Regions from separate parts of the Homo sapiens genome. Here all the other regions are linked to region 4. The links are contacts of gene promoters, found by promoter capture Hi-C in blood cells and fetal thymus (Javierre and others, 2016). All regions are on one chromosome and are shown on one strand. The core of a region is centred on a gene start or on the middle of the fragment in contact, and the rest is flanking DNA. Distances in the headings are between cores, read along the strand shown. Region 1 overlaps PHLPP1 (PH domain and leucine rich repeat protein phosphatase 1). Region 2 has its middle 290 kb from the start of BCL2. Region 3 has its middle 300 kb from the start of PHLPP1. Region 4 holds the start of BCL2 (BCL2 apoptosis regulator). Region 5 has its middle 280 kb from the start of PHLPP1.

Region 1 (4,722 bases), core at 979-3,478, 340 kb after region 4:
AATGAGGTGTCCCTGCATCAGAGCTTGTGGGGCCCAGTGGCTGCCCCTGGCACAGAGTTGCTGTGGGGCCCATTTTAGAATCTGGAAGCGATTGCTGCCTCCGTGGACCACGCTCAGCCAGTTCTGACCACTCTGGAAGTGAGCTGCGGTGGAAGAGATCCACATACAAGGCCGGGGTGTGCTCCACCCCCGGGGACAGGTGAACCCTGCCCAGAGGGGGTTTAAGAACTGAGGAAGTCAGAGAAGCAGCCCAGACCTGCAGGAACTAAGGCGTCGGTGTGAGAGCTTGGAGTTGTCCACATCTGCTTCAACCCAGTGGGGCAGCCCGAGGGACAAGGTAAGGGGCTGGGAAGTGGAACCGGGGCAGGGGTCCCAAGGTGGTTTAGCTTCCAGTCTCAGCCAGAGCGCTCCGCCTGTACTGGGGAGTCAGCTTCCTTGGTCCCTGGGTCTCTCACTGGGCCGAGATGAGGCAATTCTCTTCCATGGCTTTAGTGGTTTCCAAAGAGCACTGTGTGCAAGTAGCCTGATGTGGAAATGAAGTACGGCCATTACGAAAACAAAGTCCACCCAGCGGCCTCCTAGAGGGGGACACAGAGCCCACCACCAAGTCTACTAGTTAAGAAATAAGAACTGCCCTGTCACTGAATTAGCCAGGTCCCACCCAAGGGCAGACCTAAAGAAGGAAGCCAGGTCTACATAGGAAGGTGGTCCATGTGAGATGAAGACCAACAGTATCTTCCACACAAGGTTCACACGTGTAGGGTGGGGGCGAGGTGAAGGCGGAGGTCCCTGTCTGTAAATGCAGTTGACTAGTAGCTGGGAATACTGGCTTTCTTAAGTACACACCGCTGCACCTACACGATTCCTGCTGGTGGTGGAAGGCAAGCCAACCAGCTTGATTGACCCTGTCCAAGTAAGAGGCAGGTTAACCTGCTTATGTGAGCTACAGGCCCCCCAGGAAAACTGAAAACTTCGCTTCGTGAGAGTAAAGTTGTCCAGGGATCTCCCCTATCTATGCAACCTCTGTCTATCCCCCTTCTCACATCTTCCCTAAGAAGTACCCAAACATCTTACCCTAAGTCATAAGAAGAAATAGAAAAGCTGTAAGATCAGGCCTGGCACAGTGGCTCACACCTGTAATCCTAGCACTTTGGGAGGCTGAGGTGGGCAGATCACTTGAGGTTAGGAGTATGAGACCAGCCTGGCCAACATGGTGAAACCCCATCTTTACTAAAAATACAAAAATTGGCTGGGCATGGTGGCGGGTGCCTGTAATGCCAGCTATTCAGAGGCTGAGGCAGGAGAATCACTTGAACCCGGGAGGCGGAGGTTGCAGTGGGCAGAGAACACACCACTGCACTCCAGCCTGGGAGACAGAGCGAGACTCCATTTCAAAAAAAAAAAAAAAAGAAAAGAAAAGAAAAGAAAAGCTGTAAGATCAGCTAATTATACTGCTTACCATTTGGTTAATTTCACATTTCATTCAATGTAGGTTAACTTACTGGATGTTTTTCTCTTAAAAAAAAAATCAGAAATATCTGATAACCCCAATATTCCATCCATTCTTTCTAAACGCAAGCTAGTGTGACTGTCTCCAAGAAACATCTGGCTGCTGAGACAAAAGCAGATACTTGTAAATACTTGTAAATTTCATATTTATTGTAACAAAAATTATGACATGTCCATTTGTGCATTCTGCTTGAGTATAACTCTGGGTATGTAAATGGCCTAATGGGGCACTATACAACCATGCTGATTGTGGCAGCAGTAAGGAACACAGTTAAAAGTGTCTGTCAAAGTGGGAAGGCTGGGACAGGGGAGGAAAATGGGTTCAGGGCCCTTGGGTGCAGGTTCTTGTCCAGTGGCCTAAGATCCATTTCCTCCGGACAGAAACACTGCAGCTGCTCAGCCTCCTCATTCAGTGAAGTGAGGGTGAGTTGTGAGGCAGGCAGGCTCCTCAGAGGGGAGGGGGAGGGGAAACGTCAGTTACTTGGGCTGTGTCCTTACGCCAAGACTACAAAACATCGTAAGCCTCACTATACAACACTGAGCTATTTACAATGGAAATTCTCAATCAGCTGTTCTCTCAGAGAAAATTAGTGAATCCCAGTGACTTAAGTCACCTGACAGAGTAAAGCAACTCCTAGGAGTTAGTCTCCATATTCTACAAATGTCTATTATTTTCAAGACAAAAACAAAACAAAACAAAACAAAACAAAACAAAAGCCTTTTCCCCCCAAAGAAATACAGAATTACAATATTATTAAATCATTTAGCAACGGCAGCCTGCCCTGCCTTCCAAACAAACAACAAAAAGCCATTTTAAAAAATATTACATTATCATTAACTGTTTCTCTGTAATATATTAAACCTTTTGTTCTTTGTCTTTACATATCTGATATGTTAGGGGGAGAAGTTAACAAATGTAAATCATATTGGTAAAGCATCACTAGAAGAAAGTGGTGATTACTTAAAAAAATAACCCAAAGAAAGAGAACCTACAGATTAGCTGCGATGACAGGTTGGGAACAGTGTCTGGGGGAAGGATGTGGAGTAAAACCCCTGGTTTAATGTGAGCCTGGGAGACTCTTGCAACTCAGTCTTTTGTGGTTAGTTTATTTGTTAAACAGCTCGGCTGGGTCATAGTGGCGTGTCGTAATAATCTGGCAGCTGGTCCAGCTGGTAGTGCCGCGGCAGCTGCGGCTGGAGCTGAGGGGGTGGTGGCGGCTGCTGCTGCTGCTGTTGCTCCTGGTGATGCTTCATGATTTCTTTGACCTCCTCTTCCAGCTCCGGGGGTATGATAAACTGATCATCAGGATCCGGCTGAGCCGGGGCAGCAAAATAGCCTCCAGGCTTTCGAAGAGGTGCGTCTGTAGCCACCTCTATCACATTGTGGCTCCTTTCCTGGGGCGCAACAGAGCCATTGGCCCTCCGGCGCCCAATGGTCCCAACGGCAGAGAAGTCTGCCTTCCTGGGCAGACCTGGCTCATCCTCGTTGGCGCTGATGACAATGCCCTCATCACTGGCCTCTGCTGGCACCTGAAGCAGGTGCTGCTGTTTCTCCTTCTCCTTGGCCCGGCTGCAGTGGATGTCCACCTCCACCTCCACCCGGCTGCCGTTGGTGAAGACGCCCTCGATGGGCTCCTCATCGTCACTGTCAAGGCCGTTGTCGGAGAAGGCGCTAGAGAACGTGGCGCTGGATAGCTGGCGCTGGAAGGAGTTGGACAGACAGATGGGGTGGAGCATGCAGCGCTGCTCACTGGGGTAGGCAGGGCTGTTCTCGCTTAGGGCTCCGGGCGGGGGCTCATCGGAGGCTGTTGACCCCACCTCGCTGCTCATCTCAGAAGTGGAGAGCTCACTGCTAATCTCGGAAGCCATGCCGCTGCTGGAGGACGGCACGCCCAGCCCATCTGAGGGCCGATCCTTGATCACCATGTTCACTGAGGGAGGAAAGATGCCAGGACTGGGTGGTGGCACAGCCCCACCGGCGCTGAGCTCGCAGCAGCAGAAGCTGTCCTCAGTGACACTGAGCTGCACCACCACAGCGCTGATGCTGTCGTGGCAGCCGTAGCTCTGGGCCAGGGTACACAGCTTCTTGGCAGCAGCCAGGGCATCGGGCACGTTGCGCACGGCTTCCACGGCCTCCTCGACGGACAGGCTGTCCCACAACCCCTTACTGCCTAGGATGAAGAACTCATCCTGGGGAGTCAGGAGCACGGACTGCACGTGGGGGCGAGGCACCACACTGGGATGGAGGAAGGTGTAGCCCAGGATGCGCGTGGACTCAGTCACTCCGTTCACCTTGCCATCCTGGAAGAACAAGGGTTTGCAGACAGACAGTTAATACAGAGCACCTGCGGCAACTGTGCAGGTTCCCTGCGGGTCCCTCGACTGTCTCGACTGTAGGACCACAGAGAAGTGCTGTGTGGCCCACAGAGGAAAGAAGGGCTCACTCTGTAGTGAGTAGTTAATGTGCACCTGTCATCAGAAACCCCAGGTAGTAGGCCTGGGCAGGTAAGGAGCAGTAGGGACAAAAGGAAAAGATTTCGGTTATGTGTGTTACTGGGACCCCATTCACACTAGGTCACAAGTCCTGCTGTTTATCTAAAGCAAGCCATCATCTAGCCTTACACAGCAAGCATAGCTGGCTAGCTCCTCCTGTAAACATGGGTTTACATCTTCCCTCCCTTGGTGAACATGGTGATCAAGGATCGGCCCTCAGACGGGCTGGGTGTAGGAAGACTCTGAGGTAGCAAGAGACTTTCTGATAGAAGCCAGTCCTGAGCAAAGACACATGACGCAGGCATATATCAAGACAATGCTCCTAAATCTTCCATTGCTCTCCATGATCACAAGAGGCAGTAGTGTCTAAAGGTCCAGAGAGGACTTGAAAGTACTTAAGCGGTGGAGAAAACCTTGGTTTGACTAGGTGGGTAAGAATGCTCATGTCAGGAGAACAGATGCTAAAGAAGAAATGCCAATTCTTACAACTTCCTTGAACTTGATTTCCTGTTGACCAATGGAGAAGGCAAGATCTGCTGGCTTTAGTTCAGCTGTGTGCATGCTATTTAAATCAATTACCAAAGTGCCAGACCACTTGCCAATAAAAAGACCTGGGTTTTTTTTTTTTTTTTTTTTTTTTTGCCACGTGTACCTGCTTGGTTCTTTATTCTTCAAATTTTGAGATTCTCAGGTCCATGACATACCTCTACATGCCCTAGT
Region 2 (5,329 bases), core at 1,615-4,114, 290 kb after region 4:
TCAAGACCAAACTGGCCAACATGGTGAAAACCCATCTCTACCAAAAATACAAAAAGTAGCCAGGCGTGGTGACGGACACCTGTAATCCCAGTTACTCAGGAGGCTGAGGCATAATAATTGTGTGAACCTAGGAGATGAAGGTTGCAGTGAGTTGAGATCATGTCACTGCACTCCAGCCTGGGTGACGGAGCGAGACTCAGTCTCAAAAAAAAAAAAAAGTATATATATATATAATTGCTATAATGTAATATGTATGTAATTGCTATAATTTTCATTTATTGACGATCTACTAGATTTGTTTTTAAATCCACATGTTTCTGTCCAAATTTCCAAGCTTCTACTTAATTTTTTTCCTGAAATCTACATGGGATTATAAATCTTTAATTTTAAAAGAACATATTAGATGTAGATAATGAGTATTCTTTATCTGAAAATAAGTATGTGAACTTTTAAAAGATCTATTTCTACTATCTGTTGTTTCTGCCTCTTCTCATTCATAGTAACTTGATTCCTCATAAATTTCATAATTTTTTAAGCCACTTATATTCTTTGCAACTTTACCTGTGGGAATTCTTGCAGAACTGAATTAAATTATGTTTTTTTTTCTTTAGGAAGGTCGCTTACTTCTGTGAATCATCTGGAGATGCTACAAACAAAGGATTTTAATTTAAAGTCTGCTTGATGTTTTCCAGATCACACAAGTGGTTAGTTAAGATAAAATCTTGCATGAGGGCTGGCATATGGTTGCAAATTCTCAAGGGATATATTTTTTTCCTTCTCCACCTGTCAGCAAGGCTGAGAAAAGCAAATTTTTTGCTATAAATTTCTGTGCAGTGGGGCTTATGTCTCACTCATATGCAGTGTAAGTCCCAGCTATATATGGGGGCCTCCTATTATATTCCCTCCTTGGGCAGAATCTGGGCTTTATCTCCAGCCCCCTACACCCAAGGTACTTGCAAAGTGAAATCTTAAGATCTGGTGGAAACCCTTAGAGGAAAAGCTAGCTTTGGAACTTATTAACCTCCCAGAGGTCTTGATTTTATTTTATTTTTAGACTTGGTGTATTCCTCACTTATAATCATTTATAAAATTTGGTTTAAAATTTTTTAAAAACCATTTTAGTTGTTCCAGTGAGGACAGTCATTGTGTACCTGACTGCCATATTGCTAGAAGAAGTTACCAGGTATTCTTGAAGGAAAACAGAATTTAAGGGAAGCTGTGAAGACTGCCTATATACATCTTATTGTTGCAGGCTTAGGGCAATGTTATTGTTAATTCAGGATCATAGAAGACCAAGGATACAATAAGTAGGTGTATTAATCCACTTTCACATGCTGTAAAGAACTGCCTGAGACTGGGTAATTGATAAAAGGAAGAGGTTTAATTGACTCACAGTTCTGCAGGACTGGGGAGGCCACAGGAAACTTACAATCATAGTGGAAGGGGAGACAAACATATCCTTCTTCACATGGTAGCAGGAAGGAGAAGCGCCAAGCAAAGGGGGAAAAGCCTCTTATAAAAACATCAGATCTCATGAGAACTCACTATCACAAGAACAGCGTGAGCGTAACCACCCCATTATTCAATTATCTCCCAGTGGGTACTTCCCATGACATGGGACTGGAGGAACTACAGTTCAAGATGAGATTTGGGTGGGGACACAGCCAAACCATATTAGTGGTAAAAACTGGATTATTGTGTATTAATGGAGAGGATCAATTACACAAAGAACATAAAAATATGTTTGACACAAAGAGAGTTGATTTTTCCAGGAAAATTAAAGAATTTAGAGACAAACTGGGGAGATGGAAAATTAAACAAAAAATTCTAATGCTCTTTGGGGAGTATCTTCTGAATTATTTTTATATTGCAGAGAGTTTGTAAACAGGCCTATTTATTATAATTATTAAAATTAATAACCAATTTATTAATAGTAAAATTTTAAACGTAAATATTCTTACACCCTTGTGTTTAATTTACAAATTGTATCCTACTTATAAATCTAGTAATTTTTGTCCAAAAATAAGAAATATGATATTCACTTGTTCTTTGATTAATCTTAAATTAACTTAAGCTTAATAGTTAAAGTCTTCTAAACAATTAAATACGCCGGCCGGGCGCGGTGGCTCACGCCTGTAATCCCAGCACTTTGGGAGGTCGAGGTGGGTGGATCACGAGATCAGGAGATCGAGACAATCCTGGCTAACACGGTGAAACCCTGTCTCTACTAAATATACAAAAAATTAGCCGGGCGTAGTGGCGGGCGCCTATATTCCCAGCTACTCAGGAAGCTGAGGCAGGAAAATGGCGTGAACCCAGCGTGCGGAGCTTGCAGTGAGCTGAGATTGTGCCACTGCACTCCAGCCTGGGCAACAGGGCGAGACTCTGTCTCAAAAAAAAAAAAAAAAAGAAAAGAAAAAACAATTAAATACAACTTACAAACATAATTATGTTCTTTTAAACATTTTTAATGCCTGACTGGACAGATTTACAAAACAAAATCTTCTAAACTCTTAAGAAACTCTTGCAAATCAAACTTATAAACATAGTGAGCCAGTTTTTATTTTCTTTTTCTTTTTTTTATTTTTTCTATAGACAGGGTCTTGCTATGTTTCCCAGGCTGACCTCAAACTCCTGGGCTCGAGCGATCCTCCTGCCTCAGACTGCTGAGTAGATGCGATTACAGGCACACACACCATACTTATTTCAGGTCAGTTTTTCTTAAACATTCAAATACTGTTTTAAAATTTAATCAAATTATCTTATACTTTATGAATTAAAATTGCAGGTCTAATACCAATGATGTATTTCAAATTGAAATCCCAAAATTGATATATCAGAGCTTCAAATGTATATTGTTTCTACCCCTTATTTATTATGTAGATTATCCTGATTATAAAACTTATTAATAAACTTAACACAAAATATTAATACCACAGGTTTGTTTTCCTTCACCATTTCTCTGCTTATATTAATATAATCTTAGAACTGTAAAGCCACTTAAGTAGAGAGGACAGATTCTTATCACTTGGAACAGCACTGATAAGACTGGGATGAAGTTTCAGGACTACAGTGAAATTGCTTATTGGTCAGAGATTGAGTGGGATGTGGGCATGACTGACCCTACCAAAGCATGGGTGAATATACTGAACCAATTCCATCAACCAGAAACCCAAAGCCACGCTTTTCAACTGGGATTTAGTCTTCAACCAGTGCATCGTGTTTCTATTTTATCCACTTTTTAATCAAACCCTTTTCACCTCTTTATTACCTGAGTTGGGTAGATGTGCCCCTACCCATATTGTAACCAATTTCCTTCATCATTTGTTTGGACTCTAATAACCTCTCTATGGTCTGATTGGATACTATGTGTTACTGTTTGCTTGTTATTTGGTTCTCATCCACAATTCTGCTATCATTTTATTCACAAGGATGGACATTTCATCTGACCAAGGCATGTCAGGAAAGACTTACAGGAAGAAATAATGTCAAAGCCAAGATCTGAAAGATTCATCCATCTATTTTTAAAATATTTATTGAGTAATTAACATATGCAAGTACTGATTTGGTATCTACTGAGTAGCTAACATATTCAGATACTAGTAGTCTAGTGGTGAACGCAACAGATTAAATGGCTGCCCTCATAAAGCTTATCTTTTGGTGGAGGAAGGCAACAAGTAACTAATACGGTATAAATGGGGGGATGACATGTGAGCAGTAACCTGAATGTCAAACAACAGGGGAAGGTGTAAGAAGATAAAGGAAGTCACTAAAAAGGATGACATAGATGAGTGGTTTTCAACTCTGTCAAGCTCAACACCCCTTTATAATAGTAATAAATATTTTGTAATACCCCTCTTTTGTTACCCTGAAATTAAATTCACAGATAATATATTTACTCAGGTGCATAATTTTTTAAAAGAATGTACACAATGGCCTGACCATAATAGAAACAATTCAAATAGAATAAAACCTATGCATTTTTTATCCATATATGTCCAGTCACAAAAACAACTACTGTAGGTATTTCAGAGGAGAGTTAATGTAGAGAATTGGTTACAAAGATTTTGGAAAGGCTGGAAGAGCAAATCGATGAAGGTAGGGTTTTCCAGGATTAGTAACTATAGGGAATGACTACCCCCGAGAACTGGAGAAGCAAAAACAGAAATGGTGTTACTCAGAGTCGCTGGTAGCCAGGCTGTGGCTGCCATCCTTCATAGCATAAGATCCAGGATGAACCAGAAGCCAGTGTCTCCTACTGGCAGACCCTCAAGTGAGGCAAGATGGGAAGGAATCTAGGAGCTGGAACTTGGAGGTTTCCAGCCCCAGAGGCAGAAGGCAGAGCTTAGAAGAAGTGTGCATTGCCAAGAGATCACAGTGTCAATTTGCAATTTTTAGACACAACTACATTTGAAGATACAATGAAGAAGTCAGATGCTTGAATCTACTTTTAAATAAGTTGAGATTTAGTAGGAATAAGACAATGTTCCACTAAATGTAGACACTTTATTTATATGATGTTTAGAAATAGAAGGCTAAATAAGTATATTCACCTCTATGTATAGTCATCACAGATACAGTGACCACCACACACCTATATACAGGTGGTGTGATGTTGTGATGTTGATTGAGCTGCTGTCACTGGCATTGCCATTGCTGACGAGATTCTCCAGGTGGTTGAGTCAACATTTCACAGTAAAAGGTCTAAACACACTATTAGTTGCATTGCTGGAAAATTTAGTGTATACTAAAACCACACCAAAAAGCTTCGTGCTTATATGCAAAATGAAGTTAGGTTTGGGTTTCAAATCATTATAAATTTTTTTTTTACCTGTATGAATGTCCATTAGGATGTTCAAAACTGGGGCTGGACTCGAGTTTTGGAGGACATCTAATTTTTCACTCCTTTGTCTTCTAAATGTCATTTGCACGTTGCCACCACATCCCACTCCCACCTCTCATTATTATGACAACTAAAACTGTCTCCACAGATTTTCGGTCCCCAAAAAAAGAGGCAGCAGTGATTCTGAAAAGACCATTTTTCACATGGAAAATTATTATCGTGGCTGGGCGTGGTGGTTCACGCCTGTAATCCCAGCACTTTGGGAAGCCGATGCAGGTGGGTCACCTGAGGTCAGAAGTTCTAGACCAGCCTGGCCAACATAGTGAAACCCAGTCTCTATTAAAAATACAATAATTACCTGGATGTGGTGGTGGACGTCTGTAATCTCAGTAACTTGGGAGGCTGAGGCAGGAGAATCACTTGAACCCGGGAGGCGGAGGTTGCAGTGAGCCAAGATCACGCCACTGAATTCCAGCCTGGGTGACA
Region 3 (5,019 bases), core at 1,566-4,065, 310 kb after region 4:
CACCTGTAATCCCAGCACTTTGGGAGGCCAAGTCGGGGGATCACTTGAGGTCAGGAGTTTGAGACCAGCCTGGCCAACAAGGTGAAACCCCGTCTCTACTGAAAATACAAAAAGTAGCCGGGCGTGGTGGCATGTGCCTGTAATCCCAGCTACTCGGGAGGCTGAGGCAGGAGAATCGCTGGAACCCGGGAGGCGGAGGTTGCAGTGAGCCAAGATCACGCCACTGTACTCCAGCCTGGGCAACAGAGCAAGACTCCATCTCAAAAAAAGAAAAAAAAAAAAAGAGAGCGAGAAAAAGAAAAAGGATATATGTGTACAGTCAGAGGCACCGTCCTAGACATAGAGAACACAGGAGTTTAGAAGCAATTCCCTCTCATTCCTCATCGGTGGCCATCGTAGACGTTTCCCTTCATAGAGGCCACCACCCTGGGAGGTCTTGCTCCATGGCCCCAGCTGACCCAACATGAAACGTCCACACCTTTCCCAGGCGCATTCTACTACCAGCACCTCCCAAATTAGACCTGAGCCAGCCTTCACATCATTCCCAGCCCCAGCCTCCTGTCCCGGCCAAGAACAGCCCCTTTCTTCCATGTGCCTTGGCTCCTGGGTCCCACCTCCTGCCTGTGCTCTCTGCATAAACACCATTGGTTTGGAATAACCCACTAGAATTGGATCCTAGACATGAACCCAGCGTTTGTTCACAGTGTGTGACCACCGCTAACACCAACCCCAGTGATTTTTGGTGAAGCACAGACCAGGCAAACCCTGTCTTTATCTGGGCCACTTAACATACTTCACAAAATTCAGTAAGCAGATAAATTAACAGAGATTACAGTCATTATGAGATTTAAACTTGTGTCCTCGAAGATCAGGTAGAGCCGCCCCATGAACCAAGTTGCTAAGAATTCATAATATATGATCTATTGAGTTTCTCTGCACCAGCAAGCTTAACTAGAAAATGAGTTTTTTAAATGACACCTTTACAACTGCATCAAGAAAACATCAAATACAAATACCTGGGAATAAATCTAACAAAATATGTCTAAGACCCCTACCCTGAAAATACAAAACATCATTGAAAGAAATTAAAGATCTAAGTAAACAGAGGAATTTGCAACGTTCATGGAATGAAAGCCTCAAAAGTATAAAAATGTCAATTATTCCAAAATATATTTATAGATTTAAAGTAATTCCCATCAAAATGCCAGATTTTTTTAAATTGGCAAGCTGATTCTAAAAATTCATGGGGAAATTTTTTAAAAATTACTTAAAGAAGAACGCTAAAGGAGTTACATTATCAGATATCAAAGCTTATTACATAATTCCATGTCTGGGTATATACCCCACAACATTGAAAGCAAGGACTTAAACAGATACTTGTACACCCATGTTCACACCAGCATTATTTGCAATAGCAAAAGGTGGAAGCAACCCCAGTGTCTGTAGACAAAATGTGGTGTACACATGCAGTGAAATATTATCCAGCCTTAGAAGGGAAAAAATTCTGACACCTGCTACCACACGGATGAATCTTGACGACATTATGGTAATTGAACTATGCCAGTCACTAAAGGACAAATGTCATATGATTCTCCTTATATGAGGTACCTAGACTAGTCAAGCTTATCAAGACAGAAAGTAGGATGGTGATTGCCAGAGGCTTAGGGGAGAGATAATGGAGAGTGTTTGTTTAACGGATACAGAGTTTCAGTTTGGAAAGATAAAAAGAGTTCTAGAGATGGAGGGTGGTGATGGTTGCCCAATGATGCAAATACACTTACTGACATTGAACTGTATGCATAAAAATGGTTACAATGGTTAATTTTGTTATATGCATTCTACCACAATTTTTTTTAAAAAGGACTTGTTATAAAACTACAGCAATTAAGACAGTGTAATAAAGGCATAAGAACAAATAAACCAATGGAACAACATAGAAAGTCTAGACACAGGCTTACACACAAGGTCATCTAATTGATGACAGTAGTGACAATGCAGTAGAATGAGGAAAACCTGGCCATTTAAAAAAATGATGTTGGGTCAATTGGTTAACCTTATGCAGACAAAATATGTCTTAACACCTAATGCACACCACACACAGAAATCAATTCTGTGTTGTAGATCTAAATGGAAAAGATCAAATACTAAGCCACCTAGAAGAAAACATAGGGCAATATCTCAAAGCACTGACCTTAAGGAAACAGATTGGTAAACTAGACTTAATTGAAATAAAAATATTTTTGTTTATCAGAAGATCACATTAAGATGAAAGGGCAAGCTTTGGAGTGAGAGAAGATATGTGTAATACACACACTCAACAATGTATAAAATGCCCTGCAAATCAATAAGAAAAAGACAGCTCTCAAGAGATCGAGACCATCCTGGCCAACACAATGAAACACCATCTGTACTAAAAATAGAAAAATTAGCTGGGTGTGGTGGTGCATGCCTATAGTCCCAGCTACTCAGGAGGCTGAGGCAGGAGAATCGCTTGAACCTGGGAGGTGGAGGTTGCAGTGAGCCGAGATCGTGCCACCACACTCCAGCCTGGGCAACAGAGCGAGACGCCATCTCAAAAATAAAAAACAAAAAAAACCAAAACAACTCAACAGAAAAGTGGTCAAAAGACTTGAACAGGGACCGCACGTGAGAATATACCCCAATGACCAATAAACACATCCAAAGATGGTCAACATCAAAATTAAACTACAAAAAGACATGGCAACAAAACACAACACAGAGTACCACAGGTTGATGAGATTTTGGAGCAACTAAAACTCTAATGTATTGGTGAGAGCATAACTCGGTACAGATAGTGTTTATCTATGTCTCCTATAGCTGAGAGTATGCATGCTTTATGGCCTAGAAATTCCACTCCTGGGTAACAATCCAACAGAAATTCAGTATGAATGTGAATAGCAATGGCATTCATAAAAATCCCAAAGCAGAAATTACCCAAATGTCCATTAACAGTAGAATGGATAAATATATGGTTGTATATCCACAGAATGAAATACTATACAACAATGAAAAACACAAACTACTTAACACATTACATACGGGTGGATCTCACAAAAAAAAAAAAATGTCAAATAAAAGAAAGGCAAATAAGAAAAGAAGATGATCCTATTTATATAGTCCAAAACAGGCAAGAGTAGTCTGTAGTGTTGGCAGTGAGGAGGATAGTGGTCCCTTGTATGGGTGGTGACTAGAGGAGACATGAAGGAGGCTTCTGGACATATAGTAATGGTGCGGGCTACACAAGTGTGTGAACTTCATGAAAATTCTTACTGGCAAACGAATAATTTGTGCACTGTTCCTTATGTGTGTTAATGTTCAATACAAAGCTTACTTTTAAAAGGTATATATTCTATATAATTCAGCCCAAAGACCACATTTTACTTAATGGAGAAACACTATACGTAGCCTCACTAATAATAATAATAGAAGAAAGACAAGGTAGGCCACATGTCCATATTCAATACTGCATTGGGGATAACCACCAATAAATCAAATAAGAGAAAGCAATTAGAGGAATAATAACTGGAAACTGAAAGGTAAAAGTATCTCTGTTTGTTGATGACATGACTATATATCTGGGAAACAAAAAATTAATGGAAAAACTACTACGAGCAATAAAGGAATTCATTACAAATAACAGAAACTTAGCATCCGGAAAACAATAGCTTTTATATATTTAAACAATGATCAATTTATAATGTCAAAAGTATTTTAAGTAAAATAGCTTGACATAAACATAACGTGAAATGTGTAAAACCCATATGAGAAGACTATTATATACTCCTGAAGATATGAAAGTACATTTGAGGAAAAGACACGTATTTTTTTGAATAGACTCACTATCTTAAAAATGTTGACTCTCCCTAATTTATGTATAAAATCAATGTGGTATTGGGGTTTGTTTTTGTTTTTTCCTGGAGCTAGCCAAGTTAATTATAAAGATCATATGGAAGAAATATCAGGCAGGAATACCTAGGAAAATCCCGTGGAAAAAAAGAGTAATATGTGTATGTTGGAAAGGGGAGGTTACCAGATATTAAAACATAATGTAAAATCCTTATAATTAAAACAATGTTGTATTGGCATATGAATAGTCCAATTAAATAAAATCAAAAATCCAGAAATAGACTAAACTACACAAGGAAATATACCATACTATGAAGGTAATGTCTCAAATCAGTAAAGAAAGAAAACAATTTTTAATAAATGATGTTTGAACAACTGAATAACTATATGGGAAAAGATACAATTGAATCTGCTTATCACACTATACTACAGGATAAATACCAGAGTAAGCCACACAAATCCCAGAGGAAAACATGGGTAAGTTACTCTACTACCAGGAAGCAGCCACATGTCTCAAAATCCAGAATTAGTGAAAGAAAGACATTTATAAACTTGACTATATTAAAAAAAACTTTTACATGGCAAAAAATAACATAAGCATGGACATTAACAGAATAATAAAAGAATATAAACAACTCTATGCCCCAAATTTGATAACTTGGATGAAATAGACCAATTCCGTGAAAGACACAATCTACCAAAACTCATACAAAGAGAAACAGATAATCTGAATAGGCCTATATCTATTAAAGAAATTGTACAGTAATTAAGGATGTTCCAAAACGAAAAGCACCAAGCCCAGACGGATTTGCTGGTGAATTCTACCAAACATTTAAGGAAGAAATTACACCAATTCCTTGCAATCTCTTCCAGAAAATAGAAGCGGAGGGAACACTTCCTAATTCATTCTGAGGCCAGCATTACCAGCATACTATAGCCAGACAAATATTACAAGAAGAGAAAACTACAGACCAATGTTTCTCATGAATGTAGATGCAATAATTCTCAGCAAAATATTAACAAATCAAATCCAACAATGTATAAAAAGAATTATACACCACAATTAAGTAGGATTTATTCTAGTTATGCAAAGCTGGTTCAACATTTGAAAATCAATTAATATATCACACTAACAGCCTAAAAAAGAAAATC
Region 4 (5,315 bases), core at 606-3,105:
AAAAAAAGTCATAGCATATTTGTACACATTGTAGTACTCATTTGTCATCTTTCTTGACCCCAATAATCCAGTGTCCCTATATATTTGCACTCGAGCCCTATTAAGTAAGCCGCTGTGCTTCTAGAAGACCTTTTTCTTTTCTTGGTGCTTTGTCAAAGACTCTTGGAGATAAAAATACACACGTGCAACTTGTTTGTCCTCTTGTCCTTTTTTGCTAGGGGCTATTCATGCTGATTAATTTAAAACTGTCTGCTTGCGCGTACACACGTCTGCGAGTGTGAATGTGTATGTGTGTATCTATGTACCTCATTTGAGAAAGTGCGGCCAACTAGGATTGGCTACGAGGCAAAGGTGGAGACCTTTAGGAGCCCACCCACCCCAGCGTTAGGACGGTGGGCCTGAAAGTTACTATATGGAAGTCCTCATCGTGTAGCACTAAACCAGTGTAAAAGGTGTTAGGGACAGAGGGAAAACATTGACTTAAACTGTCGTAAAGCCCTTGATAAACCCCTTCCCTGGAGCGCTGAGTTCTGCATGGCCTGGGCCACGGACTAGGTGTTCAGGTGGACACGGGCGGGGATGCGCGTGCGTGTGTAGTGCGCGGACACCTAGGAAGCTACTTGAAAGTAAACACCACGCTCGGGGCGTCCCTAGACATTGCTTAAAACGTGCAGAGTCACCTGTCTTCACAGCAGGGCAGCGCTGAGGTCCCACTGCTGGGGGCGGTGGGGGGCGGCATTGGCCTGGGTCTTCCCCCGGCGGCCGAGCGCCGGTAACACAACGTGTGTGTGTGTAGGCGCGTGTACACACTCTCATACACGGCTAGAAAGGGTCCAGGCGACACACACACTCCCACATACACGGCTAGAAAAGGTCCAGGCGAGACACACACACACACACACACACACACACACACTCCACACACACTCACACGGCCAGAAAGGGTCCAGGCGGTTCCCGGCGCTTTTCCAGCCCTTGTTTTCATGGCGCACCCTCCCGCCAGCCGCCCCCCTCCGCACTCCGTCGTCCGCCCGGCCCGGCCGCGTGCGGTTCCCCGGGAGCCCCCACCCCGTCGCGGACCCCAGCGACCACCAAGTCCGCACGCGGCCTGCCGCAGGCCTGAGCAGAAGGCCCCGCGCACACCCACCGCGCCGCGGCCGCGCGGGAGGCCTGTGCCGCCCGCGCCACCCACTGGCCGGGCCCCGCGGGCGCAGCGGAGCGGGCGGGTGGCCGGCCCGGACGCGCCCTCCCCGGCCGCGGCCCCGCGCGCCATGTGCCCCCGGCGGGACGCGCCACTCCCGGGCCTGCCGCGGCGCCTTTAACCCGGGCCAGGGAGCGGGGCGGAGGGGGCGGTCGGGTGGCTCAGAGGAGGGCTCTTTCTTTCTTCTTTTTTTGAATGAACCGTGTGACGTTACGCACAGGAAACCGGTCGGGCTGTGCAGAGAATGAAGTAAGAGGACAGGCACCACAGCCCCGCTCCCGCCCCCTTCCTCCCGCGCCCGCCCCTCCGCGCCGCCTGCCCGCCCGCCCGCCGCGCTCCCGCCCGCCGCTCTCCGTGGCCCCGCCGCGCTGCCGCCGCCGCCGCTGCCAGCGAAGGTGCCGGGGCTCCGGGCCCTCCCTGCCGGCGGCCGTCAGCGCTCGGAGCGGGCTGCGCGGCGGGAGCTCCGGGAGGCGGCCGTAGCCAGCGCCGCCGCGCAGGACCAGGAGGAGGAGAAAGGGTGCGCAGCCCGGAGGCGGGGTGCGCCGGTGGGGTGCAGCGGAAGAGGGGGTCCAGGGGGGAGAACTTCGTAGCAGTCATCCTTTTTAGGAAAAGAGGGAAAAAATAAAACCCTCCCCCACCACCTCCTTCTCCCCACCCCTCGCCGCACCACACACAGCGCGGGCTTCTAGCGCTCGGCACCGGCGGGCCAGGCGCGTCCTGCCTTCATTTATCCAGCAGCTTTTCGGAAAATGCATTTGCTGTTCGGAGTTTAATCAGAAGAGGATTCCTGCCTCCGTCCCCGGCTCCTTCATCGTCCCCTCTCCCCTGTCTCTCTCCTGGGGAGGCGTGAAGCGGTCCCGTGGATAGAGATTCATGCCTGTGCCCGCGCGTGTGTGCGCGCGTGTAAATTGCCGAGAAGGGGAAAACATCACAGGACTTCTGCGAATACCGGACTGAAAATTGTAATTCATCTGCCGCCGCCGCTGCCTTTTTTTTTTCTCGAGCTCTTGAGATCTCCGGTTGGGATTCCTGCGGATTGACATTTCTGTGAAGCAGAAGTCTGGGAATCGATCTGGAAATCCTCCTAATTTTTACTCCCTCTCCCCGCGACTCCTGATTCATTGGGAAGTTTCAAATCAGCTATAACTGGAGAGTGCTGAAGATTGATGGGATCGTTGCCTTATGCATTTGTTTTGGTTTTACAAAAAGGAAACTTGACAGAGGATCATGCTGTACTTAAAAAATACAAGTAAGTTCTCTGCACAGGAAATTGGTTTAATGTAACTTTCAATGGAAACCTTTGAGATTTTTTACTTAAAGTGCATTCGAGTAAATTTAATTTCCAGGCAGCTTAATACATTCTTTTTAGCCGTGTTACTTGTAGTGTGTATGCCCTGCTTTCACTCAGTGTGTACAGGGAAACGCACCTGATTTTTTACTTATTAGTTTGTTTTTTCTTTAACCTTTCAGCATCACAGAGGAAGTAGACTGATATTAACAATACTTACTAATAATAACGTGCCTCATGAAATAAAGATCCGAAAGGAATTGGAATAAAAATTTCCTGCATCTCATGCCAAGGGGGAAACACCAGAATCAAGTGTTCCGCGTGATTGAAGACACCCCCTCGTCCAAGAATGCAAAGCACATCCAATAAAATAGCTGGATTATAACTCCTCTTCTTTCTCTGGGGGCCGTGGGGTGGGAGCTGGGGCGAGAGGTGCCGTTGGCCCCCGTTGCTTTTCCTCTGGGAAGGATGGCGCACGCTGGGAGAACAGGGTACGATAACCGGGAGATAGTGATGAAGTACATCCATTATAAGCTGTCGCAGAGGGGCTACGAGTGGGATGCGGGAGATGTGGGCGCCGCGCCCCCGGGGGCCGCCCCCGCACCGGGCATCTTCTCCTCCCAGCCCGGGCACACGCCCCATCCAGCCGCATCCCGGGACCCGGTCGCCAGGACCTCGCCGCTGCAGACCCCGGCTGCCCCCGGCGCCGCCGCGGGGCCTGCGCTCAGCCCGGTGCCACCTGTGGTCCACCTGACCCTCCGCCAGGCCGGCGACGACTTCTCCCGCCGCTACCGCCGCGACTTCGCCGAGATGTCCAGCCAGCTGCACCTGACGCCCTTCACCGCGCGGGGACGCTTTGCCACGGTGGTGGAGGAGCTCTTCAGGGACGGGGTGAACTGGGGGAGGATTGTGGCCTTCTTTGAGTTCGGTGGGGTCATGTGTGTGGAGAGCGTCAACCGGGAGATGTCGCCCCTGGTGGACAACATCGCCCTGTGGATGACTGAGTACCTGAACCGGCACCTGCACACCTGGATCCAGGATAACGGAGGCTGGGTAGGTGCACTTGGTGATGTGAGTCTGGGCTGAGGCCACAGGTCCGAGATGCGGGGGTTGGAGTGCGGGTGGGCTCCTGGGGCAATGGGAGGCTGTGGAGCCGGCGAAATAAAATCAGAGTTGTTGCTTCCCGGCGTCCCTACCTCCTCCTCTGGACAAAGCGTTCACTCCCAACCTGACCGATAACGCCTGCCATCTAAAAGTCTTTAACTTGCTTGCTAGTCGTGGAGATCCAAAGATCTAGCGTTTGTAATCCAGTAGGATGTGGTGGTAAATGGTACCCCTTCAGTGTTTCTCAAGCTGAAGGTCCAGGAGTCCCCAGGACCACCGTTTCCTGGCTTGAGCAGCTTGTTGGAACCGGAGGGAGGTTTCAGGGACTGCTTATGAACCAGATACCAGGTTGGGTCTTGACAGTCTGCATCCCAAACAAGCTCCCCTGAAACAAGCCCGTTGTACACTAAAATTGGAGAACAACCCGATTAGAAGAATAGACTCCACAGAAGACCAAGGGCATCATCAATCGGTAAAATTTTCCAAAAGAGGAAAACCAATGTAAGTCTTTTTCCCTGAAAAACTTAGTTGTGTTTGTAAAGAGCTAAGTTGACATTCCAAAGTCCTTGGACTGGAATCTCCAGTGTGTGCCATGTTCCCAGTGGGCGTGATGAGGTGTCCTGAGGAGTATCAGGCTATGGCTTTGCTACCTTGTCAGTGACAGAATTTGCATCGGCTGCATTCTTTGTATTCTATAATTTGTGTATGGTTTACCAGTTTGCTAGAATGTTAGAATCTTTTGTTTTTCACCACTCAGAGTGGACCTAATTTTGTGGTCGGCTGAAAAAAATTTGCATCTAGGTATCTATGTAAAGTGTAGAAGAATTGATTCTTAGCTGTGGATTATCTTACCCTTACTTTAGTTGAAGTGATTGATACCTGTGGCTTTGAAGAACATTTGTGAGATGATCTTTTTCTCGTACTGTGCTAGATAGAGCTTTCATCATTATACCATACAATTGTACTTTTCTGAGATTCTTTGTTGGAGGGGGTTTAGTTCCTAAGAGTCAAGGATTGTAATGGAGATCTATATCTCATATCTAAAATGATGAATTTATGAAAAAGTAATTCTTGTGTGAAGTTTTTTTTTTTTTTACACTTTTTGTTTTAATCTGAAGAGTTATCTTTGAAAAACAGGATGCAATTCAGTGCTTCCTTTTATAGCCTCTTGGGAGAATGACTAATGTCATTATTTTATAGGACCTAACAGGAGCAAAAAGCCTAGAAATTACTGCAAGTGGATTAGATGTCAAGAAGCACACCACATGTTTTTATTACATTTTACAAAGTGTGCTCATACTAGGAGGCCAAATAGAGAAAAGGCCAAGAAAAGTAGATGATTGATGTGAACATCTGATCTTATTTGACCAAAGTTGACAAAATATTGATGCCACTGTTTGGTGTTTAAAAGTAAGATTAACTAAAATGCCCCAATTTAAATTTCTAAAATTTAAATCCTCTTCTTGAATTGTTTGTTTGTTGAGATCTCACATTATCAGATCTTTAGTAATTCTGGAAGAATTTGCTAAAGGGTGAAAAGAATATTTTTGTTAAATATTTGGTTAAGTAGGTGGTTTGATTTTTAATCACTATAACTAAAGGGGTTGGGACTTCCAGATTCCCAAAGGATCCTTTTAAACCAAAGTAAAACTGATTTAATAGTTTTACTATTTCACATTTTTGTGAAAAATTCACACTTACAAATTTTCTTTCTACTTGAAA
Region 5 (5,068 bases), core at 2,032-4,531, 320 kb after region 4:
GCATGCTGTTTTGAGCAGCTGCATGTCTATAGGAAATAATAAAGTGATTCATTTTTATGTTGCAAACTTCAGTATTTGATATAAATTCTATCAATATGCCTTTGCCACCAAGCTCCTGCCTCTAATATTTAACCATCATCTATTGTAGTTGCAACAAACTGAATCGATTGAGATTGAAAAATCAGATGTAAAAAAAAAAGTAGAAAAACATGTCCTTTGTGGTTAATATTAATCTTGCGATTGATTTTTTTCTTTTAAGGAAGTCTGCCAAGAATAGAGGAGACAATTAGGAGAAAAAGTGATTCACTGTATCCACAGCTTCGGAGGTCAAAAGGAGACAGAGCTGGCCTTGGTATTTGGCAGAGAGGAGAGTCAAGAGGTTGGGCCAGCAGCCGCACAGAAACACATCACATGAGACCTGGAGAGGGAGGAGGCAAAGAGCACGGGGCAGTCAGGAGGACGGGCTGGGCGCCATGCTCTGCGGGAGGGAGGGAGGCTCTGGCCTCCATGCCTTGGCTCCCAGTACAGCACCTTCCTGTTCCTGGATTAGCTTCCTGGACCAGACACAACACTCAATGACCTCTTTTAGTCAAAAACCTCTCCAAGACCAGGCTATTCTCGGCCTGCTGCACTTCTGCTTAGGCTATTCCAGAAGTGACCCCTCTATCAGAGCCAAGAAGGCTGTGTGGCACCTCTGGGTAAGATCTGTGGGGTCACTCACCAGAGACCCCTGGCACTTAGCTCATCAGAAGAAGATGGCTGAGCCTAGAAGGTGCTGACAAAACAAAAAACAAAACAAGCCCCCCTACTCCCACAACTTTCTCAGGTCATCACACCCTGGAATGATCCCAAGCAGCCCCATGCCACCACTCCCCAACCTTCTAGGAACCTCAGTAAAGGAGAAATATGTTATTGATGTCTCCACTCCACAGCTGTTGTCTCCCACGCACCCGCTATCTGCCTGGCACTGTTGGTCATTTTAGGGACACTTTAGACAGGTAAGTTTCTACTCTCATGAAGCTTCCAACCTAATGGGGAGATTGTGAACAGGCAGATAAATGAGATCATTTCGGATATTGATGAAGGACAGGAAGAAATTAAAATGCAGTAATGTAATGTGGGGTGACTTGGAAGGGAGGGCCTTCCAAGTCAGGGTGGTCAAAGAAGACCCTTCAGTTACCCTGTGGGGAGGCAACATCTGAGCTGAGGTCAGAACAGAGAAGGAGCTGACACAACACTCTCGGAGGAAGCACAGCAGACTGAAGAAGAGCGACTACACTGGGTCTAAATGGAGACCAGCCAGGCTCGCGCCGCAGGAAGGAAGCCGGTGTAACTAGACCAGTCACTGTAACTGGGGGTGACTTTGCCTCCCAGGGGATATCTGGCAATGTCTGCAGACAGTGTTGCTGTCGGCAGTGTGGGAGGATGCTAGTGGCAGCTAGTAGGTAGAGGCTAGAGATGGCACTAACTGTCCCACAATGCACAGGACAGCACCCAACCAAAGAATGATCTGGACTGAAATGTGCCTGGTGCTGAGGCTGAGAATCTTGGGGCCAGAGGGTGGAGTGAGGGCAAGAGGGCAAAAGCCCATGGCTGGGAGGTGGACAGATCACATAAGACCACGGGGGCCCTGATGAGGAGTTTGGGTTGTATTCTAAAATGATGGAAGGCCACTGGAGACCTCCCCTCGGGAATCTGGCATGATGTGCATTAACAATGATGGCTCTGATGGGAAATAGATGGCTGTGGGTGCATAATGGACCCTCCTACAGAAGTGCAAATGAGAGGTGATGGTAGCTTACAGGAGCTGTGGAGACAGACAGAAGTGGATGGCTGGGATATGTCTTTTTAAAAATGAGGCTGGGCGTGGTGGCTCACGCCTGTAATCCCAGCACTTTGAGAGGCCGAGGTGGGCGAATCACCTGAGGTCACGAGTTCGAGACCAGCCTGACCAACATGGAGAAACCCTGTCTCTACTAAAAATACAAAATTAGCCGGGCATGGTGGTGCATGCCTGTAATCCCAGCTACTTGGGAGGCTGAGGCAGGAGAACTGCTTGAATCCGGGAGGCAGAGGTTGCAGTGAGCCGAGATGGCGCCACTGCACTCCAGCCTGGGTGACAGAGCGAGACTCCATCTCAGACACACACACAGAGGCTGGGCGCAGTGGCTCATGTCTATAATCCCAGCACTTTGGGAGGCCGGGGCAGGCGGATCACGAGATCATGAGTTCGAGACAAGACTAGCCAACATGGTGAAACCCTGTCTCTACTAAAAACACAAAAATTAGCTGGGCATGGTGGCAGGTGCCTGTAATCCCAGCTACTTGCAAGGCTGAGGCAGGAGAATTGCTTGAACCCGGGAGGTAGAGGTTGCAGTGAGCCAAGACCACACCACTGCACTTCAGCCTGGGAGACAGAGCAAGACTCTGTCTTAAAAAAAAAAAAAAAGAAAGAAAGAAAGAAAGCAAGAAACAGACTTGTCAATGAATCATCTGTGCAAAGTCAGAGTAGGGAGGGAAAAAGGAATCGAGGATGATCCCTGGAGTTTAGGGCAGAGCAAATGAGTGGATAATGGTGACATTTTTGTGATGAAAAAGACTATGGGAGAAATAGTTTGGAGTAGCAAACCGGGAGTTCTGTTTTGGACGGGATGTGTTTGTGATGCCTATTACATATTCACAGGCAGAAAGACAGTAGACACTGCGCTAGCACCAGACAGATGGTATTTAAAGTACATAAGAGACACTGAAATCCACCAACAGTTACCAGTTTATGCCAGACTACTTAAACAATACTAAATTCAACATCAAAGAAGAATAGAGGAAGATATGTTCCTCTTATTGTTTGCCTAGAAAAAGTTCCTTAAGATCTAATCATTTTTGATTCTTAGAAGAATAATTATTTTAAGGAGGCAGGAGGACAATTCTCACTTACACGTGATCTAGGAAGATGTCAAAAAATGCAGAATCATCCAGTAGAAGCCGTTAGGGGTCAGGACACACTTCACATGCCTGAAACACCTGTTCCCTGCCGGGGGTGTCGTTACCCCACTTCTCCATGGGCCACTTCCCAAACATCCCATAAGAACCACTGGAGAACGTGCCCCTATTTCGTGAAGCCATCTCTGTTCCTGAGGTGGGTGGCTCTTCTCCTTTCTGTGCATGTGAGACACTTTGAAATTAAGCCCTTCCCCAGGCCAGGCCTCTGCTAATGACATCAGGCACAGTGTTTCACTGCATTGATGGCTGTGTACTGTGAATCCCAGCTTACAGATAAAGTCACCAAAGCACTGGGAGGTTACACTGCTAAGATCGCTGACTCGGAGCTGCTACTACAAAAGTACCTTAACATACTGGATGGCCCAGAAACAACAGAAATTTATTGCTCACCGTTCTGGAGGCTGGGCGTCAGCAGATTCGGTGTCTGGTGAGGTCCCACTTTTCTGGTTCAGAGATGGCACCTTTCCTGTGTCCTCACACAGTGGAAGAGGCAAGGCAGTTCCCTTGGGCCTCTTTTATAAGGGCACTAATCCCATTCATAAGGGCAGATCCGTCATGACTAATCACCTCCCAAAGTTCCCCACCTCCAAATACCATTACATTGGTGATTAGGTTTCAACATACGAATTTTAGGGGGGACACAAGGATTCAGACCACAGCAGTCACCTAGTAATGAGGGCAGCACCAGGATTTGAACTCAGAGCTGTCTGCTCCAGAACCCTTGGCTCCTATTATTTTTTAAAATGACGTTTACTCTAATAGACTGTGAAATGCTTGAGGAAAAAAATATGCCAAGCTGAGTTCATGGAGAACACCAGCGTCCTACATTGGCAAAGTACCACCTATCTGGAACTCATCTTAACATTTTACATCTTACCATGAACTTGCAGCTACTAGATTTGAGAGCACATAAGCCAGGTCATAGAAATCTGCTATCCATCACCAGCCACTAAAGGAGCATTTGCAAAGGGTAAGAATGAAATCTTGATTTTCCTTCTCAAAGCTGAGCTGTTTAACCCTTTAAAAATCATCCAATGCTACATCAGAATTTTCTCTTCACTCAACTTCTTTTTTCTTCCAAAAGGAAAAAAAATCTACATTACGCTTCCCTTTGTGGTAGGTGCTTTGACCTCAGCACTCTCCTTCACTCTTGCTCCACTGCCCTGGGCCCACCCACCCTTCACCAGCGTTACCGGGGCTGCACCCACCCTCATCTGAAATCCAAAGCTATTCTTCCTATGCTGCAGAGAGGAACAGCCACAGCTCTCTACCTCTTGCTCCAGTTGTTCATAACGTCTAATCAAGATAACAGCAAAGGGGGCCAGGTGCGGTGGCTCACGCCTGTAATCCCAGCACTTTGGGAGGCCAGGGCGGGGGGAGGGAGCAGATCACTTGAGGCCAGGAGTTCAAGACCAGCCTGACCAATATGGCAAAACCCTGTCTCTACTAAAAATACAAAAATTAGCTGGGCATAGTGGTGCACACCTGTAATCCCATCTACTCAGGAGGCTGAGGCACGAGAATTGCTTGAACCCCGGAGACAGAAGTTGCAGTGAGCTGCGATTGTGCCACTGCACTCTAGCCTGGGTGACAGAGTGAGACTCTGTTTCAAAAAATGAAAAAAGATAATAGCAAAGATGTTTGTGAGTCTGCTCTCACGCTGCTATGAAGAAATACCCTAGACTGGGTAATTTATAAAGAAAACAGGTTTAATTGACTCACAGTTCCACATGGCTGGGGAAGCCTCAAGAAACTTACAATCATGGCAGAAGACACCACTTCCCAGGGCAGCAAAAGCGAGAATGAGCGCCAGCAGGGGAAAGGCCAGACGCTTATAAAACCATCAGATCTCGTGAGAACTCACTCGCTATCACGAGAACAGCACAGGGGAAACCGGCCCCATGATTCAATTACCTCCACCTGGTCCCTCCCATGACAGGTGGGGCTTATGGGGATTACAAATCAAGATGAGATTTTCAGTGGGGACACAGTTAAACCTTATCAATGTTCAATAAAGTGTTATTTACAATAGCAAAAAGCTGAAAACCATATAAATGTGTTATTAATA

Evidence for each region. Contacts are between HindIII fragments. The CHiCAGO score rates a contact against its expected background, and 5 or more counts as called.
Region 1: a fragment that was not itself captured here is called in contact with the fragment with the promoter of BCL2 in region 4 in 1 of 17 cell types (fetal thymus); the score reaches 6.0 in fetal thymus.
Region 2: a contact is called between a fragment that was not itself captured here and the fragment with the promoter of BCL2 in region 4, in 16 of 17 cell types (activated CD4 T cells, total CD8 T cells, total B cells and 13 more). The highest score is 20.4, in activated CD4 T cells.
Region 3: a fragment that was not itself captured here is called in contact with the fragment with the promoter of BCL2 in region 4 in 16 of 17 cell types (megakaryocytes, total CD8 T cells, total CD4 T cells and 13 more); the score reaches 36.5 in megakaryocytes.
Region 5: a contact is called between a fragment that was not itself captured here and the fragment with the promoter of BCL2 in region 4, in 13 of 17 cell types (megakaryocytes, M2 macrophages, M1 macrophages and 10 more). The highest score is 9.5, in megakaryocytes.

Annotation. Positions count from the first base shown.
Region 1 is chr18:62,977,350-62,982,071 of GRCh38, reverse strand. It overlaps PHLPP1 (PH domain and leucine rich repeat protein phosphatase 1), which reads right to left. Exons shown (of 17, transcript NM_194449.4): 17 at 1,639-3,810. The coding sequence ends at 2,641. Among named protein-coding and RNA genes, the nearest start is that of PHLPP1, 260 kb to the right of the region's middle. The HindIII fragment of the contact is 5,760 bases long and covers 1-4,722 here.
Region 2 is chr18:63,027,003-63,032,331 of GRCh38, reverse strand. No RefSeq gene overlaps it. Among named protein-coding and RNA genes, the nearest start is that of BCL2, 290 kb to the left of the region's middle. The HindIII fragment of the contact is 1,575 bases long and covers 2,077-3,651 here.
Region 3 is chr18:63,011,218-63,016,236 of GRCh38, reverse strand. No RefSeq gene overlaps it. Among named protein-coding and RNA genes, the nearest start is that of PHLPP1, 300 kb to the right of the region's middle. The HindIII fragment of the contact is 1,069 bases long and covers 2,281-3,349 here.
Region 4 is chr18:63,316,309-63,321,623 of GRCh38, reverse strand. It overlaps BCL2 (BCL2 apoptosis regulator), which reads left to right and starts at 1,855. Exons shown (of 3, transcript NM_000633.3): 1 at 1,855-2,450; 2 at 2,672-3,542. The coding sequence starts at 2,958. RefSeq lists enhancers at 1-87, 4,524-4,573 and silencers at 979-1,048, 1,079-1,288, 1,449-1,638, 2,994-3,233. The HindIII fragment of the contact is 7,545 bases long and covers 1-5,315 here.
Region 5 is chr18:62,994,920-62,999,987 of GRCh38, reverse strand. No RefSeq gene overlaps it. Among named protein-coding and RNA genes, the nearest start is that of PHLPP1, 280 kb to the right of the region's middle. The HindIII fragment of the contact is 4,518 bases long and covers 1,023-5,068 here.